Regions from separate parts of the Homo sapiens genome. Here regions 1 and 3 are each linked to region 2. Evidence: promoter capture Hi-C in human tissues and cell types (Jung and others, 2019). All regions are on one chromosome and are shown on one strand. The core of a region is centred on a gene start or on the middle of the fragment in contact, and the rest is flanking DNA. Distances in the headings are between cores, read along the strand shown. Region 1 has its middle 63 kb from the start of ARC. Region 2 holds the start of THEM6 (thioesterase superfamily member 6). Region 3 has its middle 15 kb from the start of CYP11B2.

Evidence for each region. The method cuts DNA at HindIII sites, captures the fragments that hold promoters and counts their contacts. A contact is called where the count stands out against the background at its distance.
Region 1: a contact is called between a fragment that was not itself captured here and the fragment with the promoter of THEM6 in region 2, in 1 of the 25 tissues and cell types used here (dorsolateral prefrontal cortex).
Region 3: a fragment that was not itself captured here is called in contact with the fragment with the promoter of THEM6 in region 2 in 2 of the 25 tissues and cell types used here (H1 embryonic stem cells and dorsolateral prefrontal cortex).

What each region holds. Positions count from the first base shown.
Region 1 is chr8:142,549,219-142,553,858 of GRCh38, forward strand. No RefSeq gene overlaps it. Among named protein-coding and RNA genes, the nearest start is that of ARC, 63 kb to the right of the region's middle. The HindIII fragment of the contact is 3,567 bases long and covers 1,045-4,611 here.
Region 2 is chr8:142,723,598-142,728,472 of GRCh38, forward strand. It overlaps THEM6 (thioesterase superfamily member 6), which reads left to right and starts at 3,626. Exons shown (of 2, transcript NM_016647.3): 1 at 3,626-4,262. The coding sequence starts at 3,750. It overlaps LNCOC1 (lncRNA associated with ovarian cancer 1), which reads right to left and starts at 3,376. Exons shown (of 3, transcript NR_038925.1): 1 at 3,125-3,376. RefSeq lists an enhancer at 3,132-3,351 and silencers at 3,382-3,821, 4,122-4,371. The HindIII fragment of the contact is 14,450 bases long and covers 1-4,875 here.
Region 3 is chr8:142,900,164-142,904,683 of GRCh38, forward strand. No RefSeq gene overlaps it. Among named protein-coding and RNA genes, the nearest start is that of CYP11B2, 15 kb to the right of the region's middle. The HindIII fragment of the contact is 4,499 bases long and covers 1-4,008 here.

The DNA.
Region 1 (4,640 bases), core at 1,578-4,077, 180 kb before region 2:
GAATTTATTCCAAAACCTTCCATTAGCCAGGAGTTCCCTTTTCAGCCCTGCTGCCCTGACCCCCAGCTCCCTGTGATCTGTCCTGAGACTGGAAGCAGGGGAGGCATCTGCGTGGGGGTGCAGGGCCTGGAGAGGCCTCGGCCTGGAGCGGGAGTGCAGGGCCTGGAGGGGGAGGGCAGGGCCTGGAGGGGGAGTGCAGGGCCTGGAGAGGCCTGGGCCTGTGTCTGGAGTGCAGGGCCTGGAGGGCCCCTGGCAGGGGGTTCTGAAGTGCCCTGAGGTGACAGAGCAGCTGGTATCTCACCCAGGCACTGCCCGCACCCCTCCAGCTGCTCACCGCCTGGGAGGTGAGCAGGATCAGGAGGGACCAGGCAGCCTCTTCTGACCGGCGCCGTCTCCCCAGCCCTGCTAGAGCCCCACAAGCTTCTTGGCTCTGAGGCATTGTCCTGGGGAGGGCCGAGCACCTCCCTGGAGGCCCAGACCTGGGAGTGCATAAGTGGGAGGGGCCAGTGGGCTTCCACCACAGCCCTGCTCTGCAGCCTGCTCCCTGTGGCCCCGGGGGGCTCTCAGACCCCTGCAGTGATAGTACAGTCCCCTCTGAAGACCCCAAGCAGCACACCTCTGCCCACCCGGTATCCTGTGTCTCTGGCCGGCTCAGCTCAGAGCAGCCCCTGAAGGGACCGGCAGACAGGTGAGACTCCTCCCAGGGTGCCCGGCCACCCAGGCCCACTCCTGGCCCTGCCTCAGACCCTCCCCGTCTGGGCCTCAGTTTCCCCACAGGTGCCAGCTGAGAGCCCTTCCAGGGCCAGCAGTCTGTGACTTGGCGCTTCTCAAGGTGTCGGAAGCAGCGGGCTCTGGAGTATCTTGTCAGGTCCTAAAAATAATCGGGAGGGAGGAACATCTCCGAATAGCTGGTGAACGTGCGAGCCGCCCACCCCACGCACAGCGGAAACTCCTCCAAATAAGGCCTTGGCAGAACCGGAAGCCTGAACCATCACCACGCACGTCAGCTGTGTTCCAGAACCTTCCCTCCCAGGGCCACAGGGTCTCCCCCAGAGGGCCGGCGGCCGGATCAGAGGCCTGGGCAGCCTGGCTCATTCTAGACACCCGGAGCCCACTGAGAGATGGCAGCCCTTCCCATTAGAGTCCTGAAATTTATAATTACGGAATCAAAGCATTTCCTAGCCTAGAAACTTGTATTTAAACGTACGGAATCTTAGAATAATCAAATTCAGACCCTTCCCCCAAGTCGCAGAGGACATTGGCTCCAAAGGGCAGTGCCCCTGCCTGGCTCCCGGGAGAAGCAGGACCCCACCTGGGGCTGGGGGGCAGCATGGTAGCCTCCAGACCAGCCTCTGGAGAAATGGGGGATGGCTCCCAGCTGTCCTAGGAAGGCAGAGGAGGTGTCGCTGGGCTCAGTATGGCTCTCTGGGAACACCATATGGACCCTGCCCAGGAAGGGGAGGTGGGGGGAGGAAGGAGGCAACACCCCCATCAGCAACCTCCTCGGCCTCTCCCAGGGGTTCCGGGTTGGGCGTGGCCCCTCCTGCCTTGCAGTGTGCACAGGGGTGGGGTGCTCCTTCTCTTCCCACCCCCCACCTCTCCTCCGTGTCCTTCCTGATCTTTCCCTGACCCTGCTAAGCTGAGGGACCCCCTGCCCCTAGAGGGGAAGCTTCTCATGGACTTTGCCCAGTTCCTCCACCGGGCCACGCTTAACCTCCCAGAAGGACAAGGGTGTGCCTTGGGAACCAGGGCAGGGAAGAGGAGGGAGGGGACAGGTCTGGAGGGGCTGCTTTATTGGAGGAGAGGGATGGGCACAGTCTGGTGACAGGACCTTGAGGGTAGGCAGGGAGGGTGCAGGGCAAGGACTGGACCTCCCACTCTTGATGGCTTCCCGGAAGAGGGGACCTGGCTGAGCCTGGAGGTGGTGGAGGCGGGTGGTAGTCGGCACCCATGTAGGGCCAGCCTTGAAGGATGCTGATGTCACCAGTGGCCGCTGAGCCAAGGCTGGTGGCTTGGGCGGCATGGGCCAGGGCTTGTACCCCTTGGAGGTTTAGGAAGTTCAGGCTCTCAGCCAGAGCCCGCCCCCTGCTGGCTTGGAGAGAAGGGCTCAGCGCTCAGGCCCCACCCCGGGGCTGCTGTGGGGGATTTCTTTCTGGGCCAACCCCAGGTCACTAACAGGTCACTAAGATGTGATGTGGCCAGGGTCACACAGCTGGGGCCTGGACCACTGCTTGGCCAACCCTAGAAGAGTCCCAGTCCGCGCCCCCACCCAACTGTTGCCATCCTCCAGGCAGTCTGTGCCTGTAGCTGCCAGAAGCACTCCTGGCCCCAAACCTCAGTGGTGCCTCCCTCTTCACTGTCCTGGCCTCGCCTCACCCCTGCCTCTGAGTCTCTCCAAAGCCACGTGCCTTATAGCAGGCTTTGGCGGGGGGCAGGCAGTTTCCTGCAGTACAGGGGTTCCCCCGAACCTGGTATGCACACCAGGTATGCTCAGAGGAGGCTCTTATCAGCATCTGACAGCTGAGAAGTCTGAGAGGGGCCCTGGGGAAAGAGGCCACAGAGTGTTCTGGGAAGGGGCCACCTGCCCCTGCCTCCAGGTGCGTACCTGCAATGCACCAGGAACAGGCAGCCATTGGAGGAGAGGTGGGCAGATTAAGCCGAGCAGGCCTGGCAAGGAGAGGTGAGGTGGAGGCCAGGCCATGGGTCCAGGCTGAGGAACAGCAGTCATGTGCAGAGGGCAGTGGCTGTTCACATCTCACGGGTCCTGTTGGTCTCCGTGGCCCACGGGTCTCTATGCAACACCTCCCAGGTGTGTGCCAGGCTTGCAGAGATGATGCTGGTGGCTCAAGGACTCCTAGTAGAAGCTCCCAGAGAAGGGACCTCAGTGTAGACCTCAGTGCAGACCAGAGAAAGCACAGAATGACGTGTGCCCTTACCCATGGCACTGATGACGGGGATGAGGGACAGTGATGCAGGCCTTTGTAACCACCACCCAGCACAGAAGAGGAAACTGAGGCACAGAGAGAGTAGGTGACTTGCCCAGTCACAGAGCTAAACCAGTGGTGGGATTCGAGCCCAGGCATCCAGGCTGTCGTGGTGGTGTACTTAGGCGTCATCATCATTCGAGATTTACTTCACCAGGTTTAAGGATTATGACCCATGACACAGCCTCAGGAGGGCCTGAGGACCTGCGCCCAAAGTCGTTGGGGTACAGCTTGATTTTATACATTTTAGGGAGACTTAAGACATCAATCAATACACATGACGTATATATTTGTTCTAGAAAGGTGGGACATCCTGAAACAGAAGCTTCCAGGTCATAGGTGGATTTAAAGATTTTCTGATTCACAATTGGTTGGAAGAGTTATTATCTAAAGACCTGGAATCAATAGAAAGGGTGTTTAAGTTAAGATAAGAGTTTGTGGAGACCAAAGTTAGCATGTAGTTGAAGTCTCATAGGTGGCCACCCTTAGAGGCAGTAGATGGCAAATGTTTGCTATTCAACCTTTAAAAGATGTTAGGCTAGACTCTCAGCTAATCTCTTCAAGGTCAGAAAAAGACCTGGAAAGGGAGGAGGATTCTCTACAGAATGTAAATTTCCGCCACAAGAGACAGCCTTGCAGGGGCATTTCAAAATATGTCAAAGAAATATACTTTGGGGTAAAATCCTTTGATTTCTTTCAGAGCCTACTGTTATGCTATGCTATGCTGGAGTCAGGTTCGAATTTGCTGTTATTTCTACAAAGAGTCTGTTCGGTCTGTCTTAAGATTTCTGTTTAATGTTAATGCTGATCAGTTTTGTGCCTGAATTCCCAAGAGAGGAGAGTGTAATGAGGCATGTCTGATCCCTCCTTCTCATCACAACCTGAACTTGTTATTTTTAGGTTTCTTTGGAATCCCCTTGGCCAAGAAGGGGGTCCATTTGGTCAGTTGGAGGACTTAGAATTTTATTTTTGGTCTACACTGGGCACCTGTGCATGACGTATTTGTAATGATGGAGTATTATCACGGAAAAAATAGAGCAATTTCCATTTCCAAAAACAAAACAAGAAGGAAGACCCCATGTTGATGTATTAATTATCTGGGCCTGGACTATTCTAAGTGCTGGTCAAATAAATTTTAAGGGTAGGCCAGGCCCTGACACAGATCTCAGGTGGGAGGCACCTACAGCATCTTCAAAGCTGCACTGGCTCTATATGCCCCACCTCTCTCATTCTCCCAGAGCTCACAGTGGAGAAGTTGTGCTCTCTGCTTCTGCTGGGTCCGGCACCTCCAGCCCCAGCCTGCCTCCCTCCCAATCAGCTCCTCATAAGGTCTTTTACACCAGGCCTTTCCCTCCCTCCACACTCTCCAGCCTTTCTCCTTAAGAGTCCTTCTTGTCAGCAACTAACTACGGAGCTATTCAGGCTTTTTATTTCTTCTTGACTCACTTCTAGTGCATTGTGCTTTTCTGAAATCCAACTATTTCAACTAAGTTTTCAAATGTATTGGAATCACATTGCTCCTAACATTCTTTTATTTCTGATGTGTCTGCAGTCAGGTCCCCTTTGTCACCCCTAACACTGAATTGTGGCTTCTCTCTTTATGTTATTCAACTTGCTTATTTAATCATTCACTTCAAAGAACAAACTTTTGCCTTT
Region 2 (4,875 bases), core at 2,376-4,875:
GAGGCTTAGTTCACTGAGAAATGAAAGGGTCCATACCAGGTTTCCTTGGCTACTCCATCAGCTGTACAGTTGGAAGGACTTGTCTCTAGAATAAAACCTTTTGCTTCTCCTGATGGACGACAGGCCTGCTTGGAGAAAACAGTCTACTCCCGTAAACCTATAGAGGACCTCAAGTATTTGTTCAAGAAGCTGCCTCTGGAAGACAGCAATAGTTAAGTAACATCCTTATATAAATGATATATACCAGGGGATATGCAGACTATCTTCAGGACCCTGGCTTGATACCCCCAACTGCACAATTCATAACCTGAACCTCTCCATTCTCAATGACACCAGGGGATATGCAGACTATCTTCAGGACCCTGGCTTGCTACCCACCAACTGCACAATTCATAACCTAAATCTCTCCATTCTCAATGACACCAGGGGACATTCGAATTTGGGCTCCTCTTGGAATTGTTTTCCCTCGAGGCCACGCTAATGACCTCCTCAACCACCCTGCTTGCCTAGCTCTTTCCCCCTGCATGGCTCTGTGGGCTTGGACACCCCAAGCCCAGGCCAAGGAAGGGCCAGGTCTGGCACCCAGAAGTCCCCCACTTGACCTTGACTCCTTCAAGTCCCCCAATAAACTGCCAGTGAACCACCACAAGCTGCCCAAATCCATTGCGTTAGACTGATGCAACTGAGTGATGGGGAAGGTGTGGGTCCCTCCAGCTTTCGTGGGTGCTAAGACTGCTGGGTGTCTGGCACTGCTCTGGCCCTGGGACACAGCAGTTAGGAGGCCAACCAGGCCCTGGCCTTCTGGCTTCAGAGTCCAAGAGGGACAGAAGTATTCCTTGCTTATGTATTCCCTGTGTAAGATTGCAGCAAGGCTATGCACCCTGGGAGAGGTTCGCTGTGCAAGGAGAGCCCTGGGGATCTTGCCCAGTCTCTGGGCCCAGGAAGCGGAAGATGGAAGAGGAGGGAACAGCATGTGGGTGGGAGGGGAGCTGGGAGAGCAGAAGTTGGGAATGAATGGGCAGGGGCAGGAGCAGAGGAGGTCTGGAGGGTGGGTAGAGACCTTGGAAGCTCCAACTGGTTTCTCATTCATCCATCTTCACCGGTATCTCCAGGGCTAAGCCTCCAGCTCTGGGTCCCTCCCCTGGCAGGAGAGGACACAGTGGTGTAAACCAAAAATGAAATTCTAAGCACCCCCACCATCTGAATGCACCCCTGCTCTTGACCAAGGGCAGTCCAGGGTTAACCTGAAACACTAGTTCAGACCACGACAGGAAATGGGTGTTGGATATGCCTCACTGTACCCTCCTCCCTTTGGATTTCAGGCCCAGCTGACCAGCAGTAACATCAACACACCCCTTAAAGACTGAGAGAACAGACTCTTTAAGTCTGATGAGAAACATTTACAATCTATTCTCTCTGAAGCCTGCTACCTGGAGGCTTCATCTGATCATGAAACACTGGTCTCCACGACCCCTTATCTTAACCAGACATTCCTTTCTATTAATGCTAAGTCTTTAAAAAATAACTTTTTTTTTTTTTTTTTTTTTGGAGAAGTGAGGTCTCTCTATGTTGCCCAAGCTGGTATCTAACTCCTGGGCTCAAATGGTCCTCAGCCTCCCCATGGCAAGGATTATAGAAATGGCCCACCATGCCCGGTCAACTTAACTCTTTCAATCAATTGCCAATCAGAAAATCTTTGAATCTGCCTATGACCTAGAAGTCCCTCTGTCACTTCCAGTTGTCCCCACCTTTCTGGACCAAACCAATGTCCATCCTGCAAGTATTCATTGATGTCTTATGTCTCCCTAAAATTTGTAAAACCCAGTTGCAGGCTGACCACTCTGGGTACAAGTTCTCAGGATCTTCTGAGGCCGTGTGACAGGCCACAGTCACTTAGATTTGGCTCAGAATAAATCTCTTCAAACATTGCACAGTGTTTCACTCTTTTTGTTGGCAAGGGGACAACATGGGTGACCAGGAGGCTGCATTCTTTGAGCAATGGCCAACAGGCTCAACGGCTATGTCCTCAGTCCCTTCAGCCCAAAAGGCCACCCCTCCCTGGGGCAGAGGGCTCAGAGCCCAGCTACGACAAGGTGACACTTCAGGGACAAGTGTGAGCAATGCTAGGGTGTTGGGAATAGGCCCCCAAAATCTGGCCATAAACAAAATCTCTGCAGCACTGTAACATGTTCATGATGGCCATGATGCCCACGCTGGGAGGTTGTGGGTTTACCGGAATAAGGGCAAGGAACACCTGGCCCACCCAGGGCAGAAAACCGCTTAAAGGCGTTCTTAAACCACAAACAATAGCATGAGCCATCTGTGACTTAAGGACATGCCCCTGCTGCAGATAACTAGCCAAACCCACCCCTTTATTTTGGCCCATCCCTTTGTTTCCCTAAGGGGTACTTTTAATCTATAATCTGTAGAAACTGTGCTTATCACTGGCTTGCTGTGAATAAACACGTGGGTAAATCTCTGTTGGAGGCTCTCAGCTCTGAAGGCTGTGAGACGCCTGATTTCCCACTCCACACCTCTATATTTCTGTGTGTATCTTTAATTCCTCTAGCACCGCTGGGTTAGGGTCTCCAGGACCGAGCTGGTCTCGGCACTGGGGGAGCTGCCCTGATAGGTAGTGAGCTCCCTGTCCCTGGGGCTATCAAGCAGAGCCAGGTGCCGCCCCAGGGAGCTCCTTCTTTGAGGGCGGTCCAGAACCCTGGAACCCCAGCCCAGGCCCAGGCCTGAATCCGGAGCTTGTTTAACCCAGCAATTCCGGGACCCCATCCCCGGTCGCTGGCATCCGCTGTCATTCGAGAGCCTGGGGCTGACGGGGAGAGCTGGTCCGGCCTTCTCTGGGCCGCCTTTCCTCCCCAGCCTCGTCAGGAAGGGGCACAGGACAGCCGAGCTGTGCGACAGCCCGCTGGGCCTGCGCCCCAGGGCCTCCGGCGACACTTGGAGTCCGCAGCTGAGTCACTGACTCTCACCCGGGCTCCCCCGCTTCCGCCCGGCCGTGATTTGCTCCGGTTTCAAAAGGGAGGAAGGGCGGGAATGCTCGGGAAGAGCCTGGGGTTGGCAGGACCTTTAGGGGGTGGAATGAATGTCGTGAGGGCGAGTAAGGAGGTACCGGCTGGGGCTGAAAATGCGCACGGGGACCATGAGCGTGATTCGCCCTGAGCCGCTGCGAACGCCCTGCGAGCTGGGGTGGCCCTGGAGGTCCTGGAGCAGAAGCTAGGTTCCCGCAGAGTCCGCTGCAGCGCCGCTGGCGATCGGGCTGGGTCCCATTTTCCACGAAAAGTCCCGCGGCTTCGGCCGCGGAGGTGCTGGAGCCTTTGCGCTCAGACGAAGGGCCGAACGGCCAGGGCCAGGCCGCGTCTTCAGAGCCTGGCGAGGGTCTCGCGCTGCTGGGAAGGCGGAGACGCCGGGGCGCGCGTGCACCCTCGCGCCTGCAGCGCCGCGCACGGCCGCCAGGTGCCGCTGTGGCGCTCAGCGCGCCGCCCGCCCCGCCCCAGGGAACGCGAAAGTGGCGCGGGCCTGGACGGCGGGACGGACCACGTAGGGCGCTGAGAAGGTCGCGCCACGGTGGGCGGGGCTCCGGGCCCCTCCCCCTCGGCCGCCCTCGCGCTGTGGTTCGCTCCGGGCGCGCTGCGCTCGTGAGTTCCCAGGAGGCCTGGCGGGCACCGTAACCAGCGCCGCGGACACCGGCACCGGCGCCACGGACTCCGCAGGACCCCGCGCCCGCCGCCGCCGCTATGCTGGGGCTGCTGGTGGCGTTGCTGGCCCTGGGGCTCGCTGTCTTTGCGCTGCTGGACGTCTGGTACCTGGTGCGCCTTCCGTGCGCCGTGCTGCGCGCGCGCCTGCTGCAGCCGCGCGTCCGTGACCTGCTAGCTGAGCAGCGCTTCCCGGGCCGCGTGCTGCCCTCGGACTTGGACCTGCTGCTGCACATGAACAACGCGCGCTACCTGCGCGAGGCCGACTTTGCGCGCGTCGCGCACCTGACCCGCTGCGGGGTGCTCGGGGCGCTGAGGGAGTTGCGGGCGCACACGGTGCTGGCGGCCTCGTGCGCGCGCCACCGCCGCTCGCTGCGCCTGCTGGAGCCCTTCGAGGTGCGCACCCGCCTGCTGGGCTGGGACGACCGCGCGTTCTACCTGGAGGCGCGCTTTGTCAGCCTGCGGGACGGCTTCGTGTGCGCGCTGCTGCGCTTCCGGCAGCACCTGCTGGGCACCTCACCCGAGCGCGTCGTGCAGCACCTGTGCCAGCGCAGGGTGAGCGGCCCCCGCCCCTGGCCCCGGAGCACGGCCTTTGTGGGACCTCCGGGGGCTCCTCCTAGTCCCTGGCCCCCTCCCCTAGGGAAGGCCCGCTGCCTGCACCTCTTTCGGATACTGCTGGAGTCCTGCCTCTTACCGCTCCCGCCCCTCCCTCTCTACCGGGGGCATTCCTCACTGATGCCTTTGTTCGTGGGGGTTCCTAGGGTCCCCGAATCAACTCTTCATAGTCGGGCTTAGCGTGCTTCCCTCCTGCCATTTCTTAACCTGGCCCCTCACGGTTTCGTGTTCACCCCTCTCCTCTCTCCTGGTACTCTGTTCTGTGGCTGGAGTGTTGACCTCTCTGGTCCTTGGTCCTGAATATAGGTTGGAGAGGTGATCAGTTAGAAGAGGTTCCTAGGAGTTCCCGAGGACCTGAGCCCCCCTTTCACACAGCTTAGAGCTGAAGGGCTGGGTTCTGGTCACCTGGGTTTGGGGTTGAGGTATTGAGCCGAGTAGCTGAAAGCCTTCTGGCCTTTCTGCAGTTGGAGAGAGGAGGGCCATGCACCTCCCAGGGCTCGCTCCTCCCAGCAGGGCAGAACCGCCCCTGCAGCATGGCACCTGGGGCCCTGGG
Region 3 (4,520 bases), core at 509-3,008, 170 kb after region 2:
TTAGCTGGCAAGGTTAGCAGTATACCTTCACTGTCCTCCTCAGGGATATATTAACTCTCCAGACTGATTATAATTTAATTTGTAGGCATCTTGTCATAATTTACTTTGTAGGGATCACCTTTCCTTTCTGAAAGATACCACACTGATGGATTACATTTATAACATAATGCTAATTAGACCCAGAGAGCAAGACGTACCAATTGCTCTAGACTTATTATTAAGACATTTGTGTGAAAACACCCCAGGGCCTGTAGTGGGGTGAGGGGAGGGGGAGGGATAGCATTAGGAGATATACCTAATGTAAATGATGAGTTAATGGGTGCAGCAAACCAACATGGCACATGTATACATATGTAACAAACCTGCACATTGTGCACATGTACCCTAGAACTTAAAGCATAATAATTAAAAAAAAAAGACATTTGTGTGAAAGGGTGCTGCTGTGATTTGAATGTGTCCCCTCCAAAATCCAGTTGTTGCCGGTTTGATAGTATTAAGATATGGGGCCTTTGAGAGATGGTTAGGCAGTGAGGGCTCCACCCTCGTGAATGGGATTAGGTGCCCTTGTAAAGGGGCTTGACAGAGGGGATTTTATCCCCCTTATGCCCTCCGACTTCTACCATGTGAGGACACATTGTTCCTCCCCTCCAGACGATGCAATGTTCAAGGTGCCGCTTGGAAACAGAGACCCAGCCTCCACCAGACGCTGACCCTGCTGATGTCCTGATCTTGGACTCTCAGCCACCAGAACTGTGGGAAAATAAATTTCTGTTCTTTATAAGTTACCCAGTCTCTAGTGTTTTTGTTAAAGTACACAAAATCAACTAAGACAGATGGGAAATAAACCCAACAGAAATTCAGGGCCCTTCTACCTCCATGAAATTTCTAGGAATCCGGTGGTGTGGGGCATGCCTAAATATCTCTTCTAAGGTGAATTACAAGCTGTAACATCTGGCCCCTCCTGCAATCAAAAAGGAGGTACATTGCCTAGTAGACTCTTAGGACTTTCATGGTAACATATTTCTCATCTGAGTATGATCCAGCCCACTTTCTTTTGACCTAAAGTGCTGCTACTTATGAGTGGAACCCAGGACAGTGGAAGGCTCAGCAACAGGTCCCGGCCACCATGCAAGCTGCTTTGCTAATTGTGCCACATTTTCTAGCAGATCCAACAATAACTGAAGTGTCAGTGGCAGATAGGCAAGCTTTCTGGAGCCTTGGTCGGGCCCTGTAGGTTAATCACAGCACAAATCCCTGGAATTGCAGCACAAAGCTCTATCAACCTGTGCTGATAACTACTCTCCTTGGAGAAAGAGCTTTTGGCTTGCTCCTGGGTCTTCGTAGAGAATAAACACTTTACCACGGGCCACTAAGTTACCACGTGACTGCCTTTGATTCGTGGGGTGTTACATAAGCCACTAAGCCTTAACATACCCAGCAGCACTCTATCAATGAATGGAAGGAGTATGTTCATTTGGCCTCGAGGAGGCCCAGAAAGCACAAATAGGTTACATGAAGAAGTGGCCCTAATGTCCAGGTTGTCCACAATCCTGCTACACCATCTTCTCTCCCCAGCCTGCACCTATGGCCTTACGTGGTTACCTGTATTTCGTTGGCAGAGAAAAAGAAAACTAAAGTCAGGTTTAGAGATGGTTCTGCAAGAGATGTCGTTATCGTCCCAAAACAGACAGTCACAGCAATGCAGTTACTTTCCGAGACGTCCCTGAAGGACAATGGCAGAGGAAAATCCTCCCGGTGGGCAGAACTTTGATCACTAAGCCTGGTTGTTCATTACACTTGGAGGGAGAAATGGCCATGCATGCAATCATATACAGATTTATGGGCTTTTGCCAATGATTTCGCTGGGGGGTAAGGATCTAGGAAGCAACACAACTGTAAAATTGGTGACTAGAGATTTTGAGGAAGAGGTATGTGGATAGATCTCTCTGAATGGGCAAAACATGTGAGGATATTTGTGTCCCATGTGAATGCTTACCAAAGCGTGATCTCAGTAGAGGGGGATTTTAATAATCAAGTAGATAGGATGACCTATTTGTGAACACAAACCAGTCACTATCCCCGGCCATGCCTGTCATTGCCCAATGTGCTCATGAATTAAGCAGATGTGGGAACAGGGAAGGGGGTTATGCATGCTCAGCAATGTGGTTTTGCACTAATGGTGCCAAGCTGGCTACAACTCCTGCTGAGTGCACAATCTGCCAGCAGCATACACCAACAGATAGCTCACAGAATGATACGGCTCCCTGGGGAGATCAGCCAGCAACCTTGTGGCAGGTCTATTACATCCAGCCTTTTTCATCATGGATGGGAAGCATTTTGTTCCTATTGGGATACATACACACTTTCTTTGGATATGCATTTTTTCTGCATTCAATGCTGCGTCAAAACGATATATTTTTATTTCATCTCTTATAACTTTAAATAAAATAAGATGCATTGACTATATCATAGTATTTATTGTACAGAATATCAAGAAGAATAAACACCACCAAGGGTTTTTGCAGCTTCTTCTGGGGAGAGGATTAGGACAGTTGTATCATGTTAGGTGAAGTATGACCTTGCTTTTATTTTTATTTGAAAGTTAAGTATGATTTAAGGAGCTGTGTGTGGGAGCCAAGATGAGAAGGAATGGAGTGTGATGGTTGGTTTTAGGTTTCCATCTGGCTAGGCTATGGTACCCAGTTTCAGTCAATGCATGAGTCTGCTATGGCTGCTGTAACGAAGTGCCATGGATTGAGTGGCTTAAATGACAAACGTTTATCTCTCACAGTTCTGGATGCTGAGCAGTCCAAGATCGTGGTGCCAGAAGGCTTTGTTTCTCCCGGGCCTCTCTACTTAGACCGTAGATGGCTGTCTTACCTCTGTGTGCTCACGTGGCCTTTTCTCCATGTATGAGCACTCCCGGTATCTCTTCCTCTTCTAATAAAGACACTAGCCCTATTGGATTGAGGCCCCACACATGTGACCTCACTTAATCCTAATTACCTTCTTAAAGGCTCTACCTCCAAAGATAGTCACACTTGGGGCTAGAGCTTCAACATATAAATGAGGAAGGGCACAATTCACTTCATAAAAGTCAAAAACCAGTCAAGATGTTGCTGAAAAGAAATTTTTTAGATATGAATAAGATTTAAATCAGTAGACTTTGAGTAAAGTAAATTATACTCCAGAATGAGGATATGCCTCATCCAAACTAGTAAGTCCTTTAGAGGATGGCTGGAGGTCTCCTGAGGAAGAAGGAATACTGCCTCCAGATGGCCTTTGAATCAAGATCTCAACGTTAGCTTTTCTCTGCATCTTCATACTACTAGCCTGCCCTGCATATCCTGGACTTACCAGCAGAAACACTCACATGAACTAATTCTGTAAAATAAATCCCTCTCTCATCTTGATTCAGTATTTCTGGAGAACTCTGGCTTATTCTAGGGAAGACTCATCAAAAGATATAACAACTGTAGACATATACGTATCAAACCACAGAGTCCCAAAATATATTCAGAAAACGTTGGGGAGGGAGTTCCAGACGGCCAACTAGAAGCAGCTATTGTGTGCCACTCCCTGGAGAGGAAACAAGGTAGCCAGTAAACACTAGCTCTTCAAGCTCATCATCTGAGAGACGCTTCCTGATTGGGCCTCAAGCAGGGAACCCACAGAGAACAGAGAGGACTGAAGCTTGCCCCATGCTAATGCTTACCAAAGTGTGACCTCGATGGAGGACGATTTTAATAATCCAGTAGATAGGACAATCTGTTCGTGAACACCAGCCAGTCACTATCCCCAGCCAACCCTGTCCTCACCCAGTGTGCTCATGAATTCAGCAGACATGAGAACAGGGAAGGAGGTTACCGGTATGGAGCCAGGAGAAGCTCCCTAACTTGGGGAAAGGCTGAGTGAATGAGAGTCCACAAGGGATCCATACTTCCCTCATGGACCTTTGCAATCCTGGGCATGGGAGAACCTCTCTGATGCCCCAACCCCCAGGCCTCCAGACTGACACAGAGAACTAGCTGGAGTTTTGCAGAGGCGCTGCTTAAGCCCACATGGAGCCTCACAGGCCTTGGATCCCCGAACAGCCTTGTGCCAGCTGCCATAGCCCCAGTAGAGCACACAGCTGTGGTGCCAAGGAATGGCCAGACTGCTGTGCTTCTCCTCACCACGCAAGGCTCAGCTCAGGTTTCCAGCGCAGTAACCCCATCCCCACCTAAACACTGTCGGGGGCACAGCTCTGTGTTCTCCTGATATGCACCCACACCACAGCCCACGTGATGTCCCCCAACCCCCACTGTTCTTTGCCAGGCAAAGCTTACTGGCTTGTGCTTCCAGTACAGTAACCGCACCCCCGCCTGGACACTGTGGTGAGTTGTTCCTCTGTGTTCCTCTGGGTTAAAACTCCCGGAGTTAACAGACAATGCTTGGCACCTTTGCATGCCCCCAGCAGCGAAGTTTAGCATGCTTGGGTAGGAGGAAAGTGTCAGCATGCCACATATCCCACAGCCACC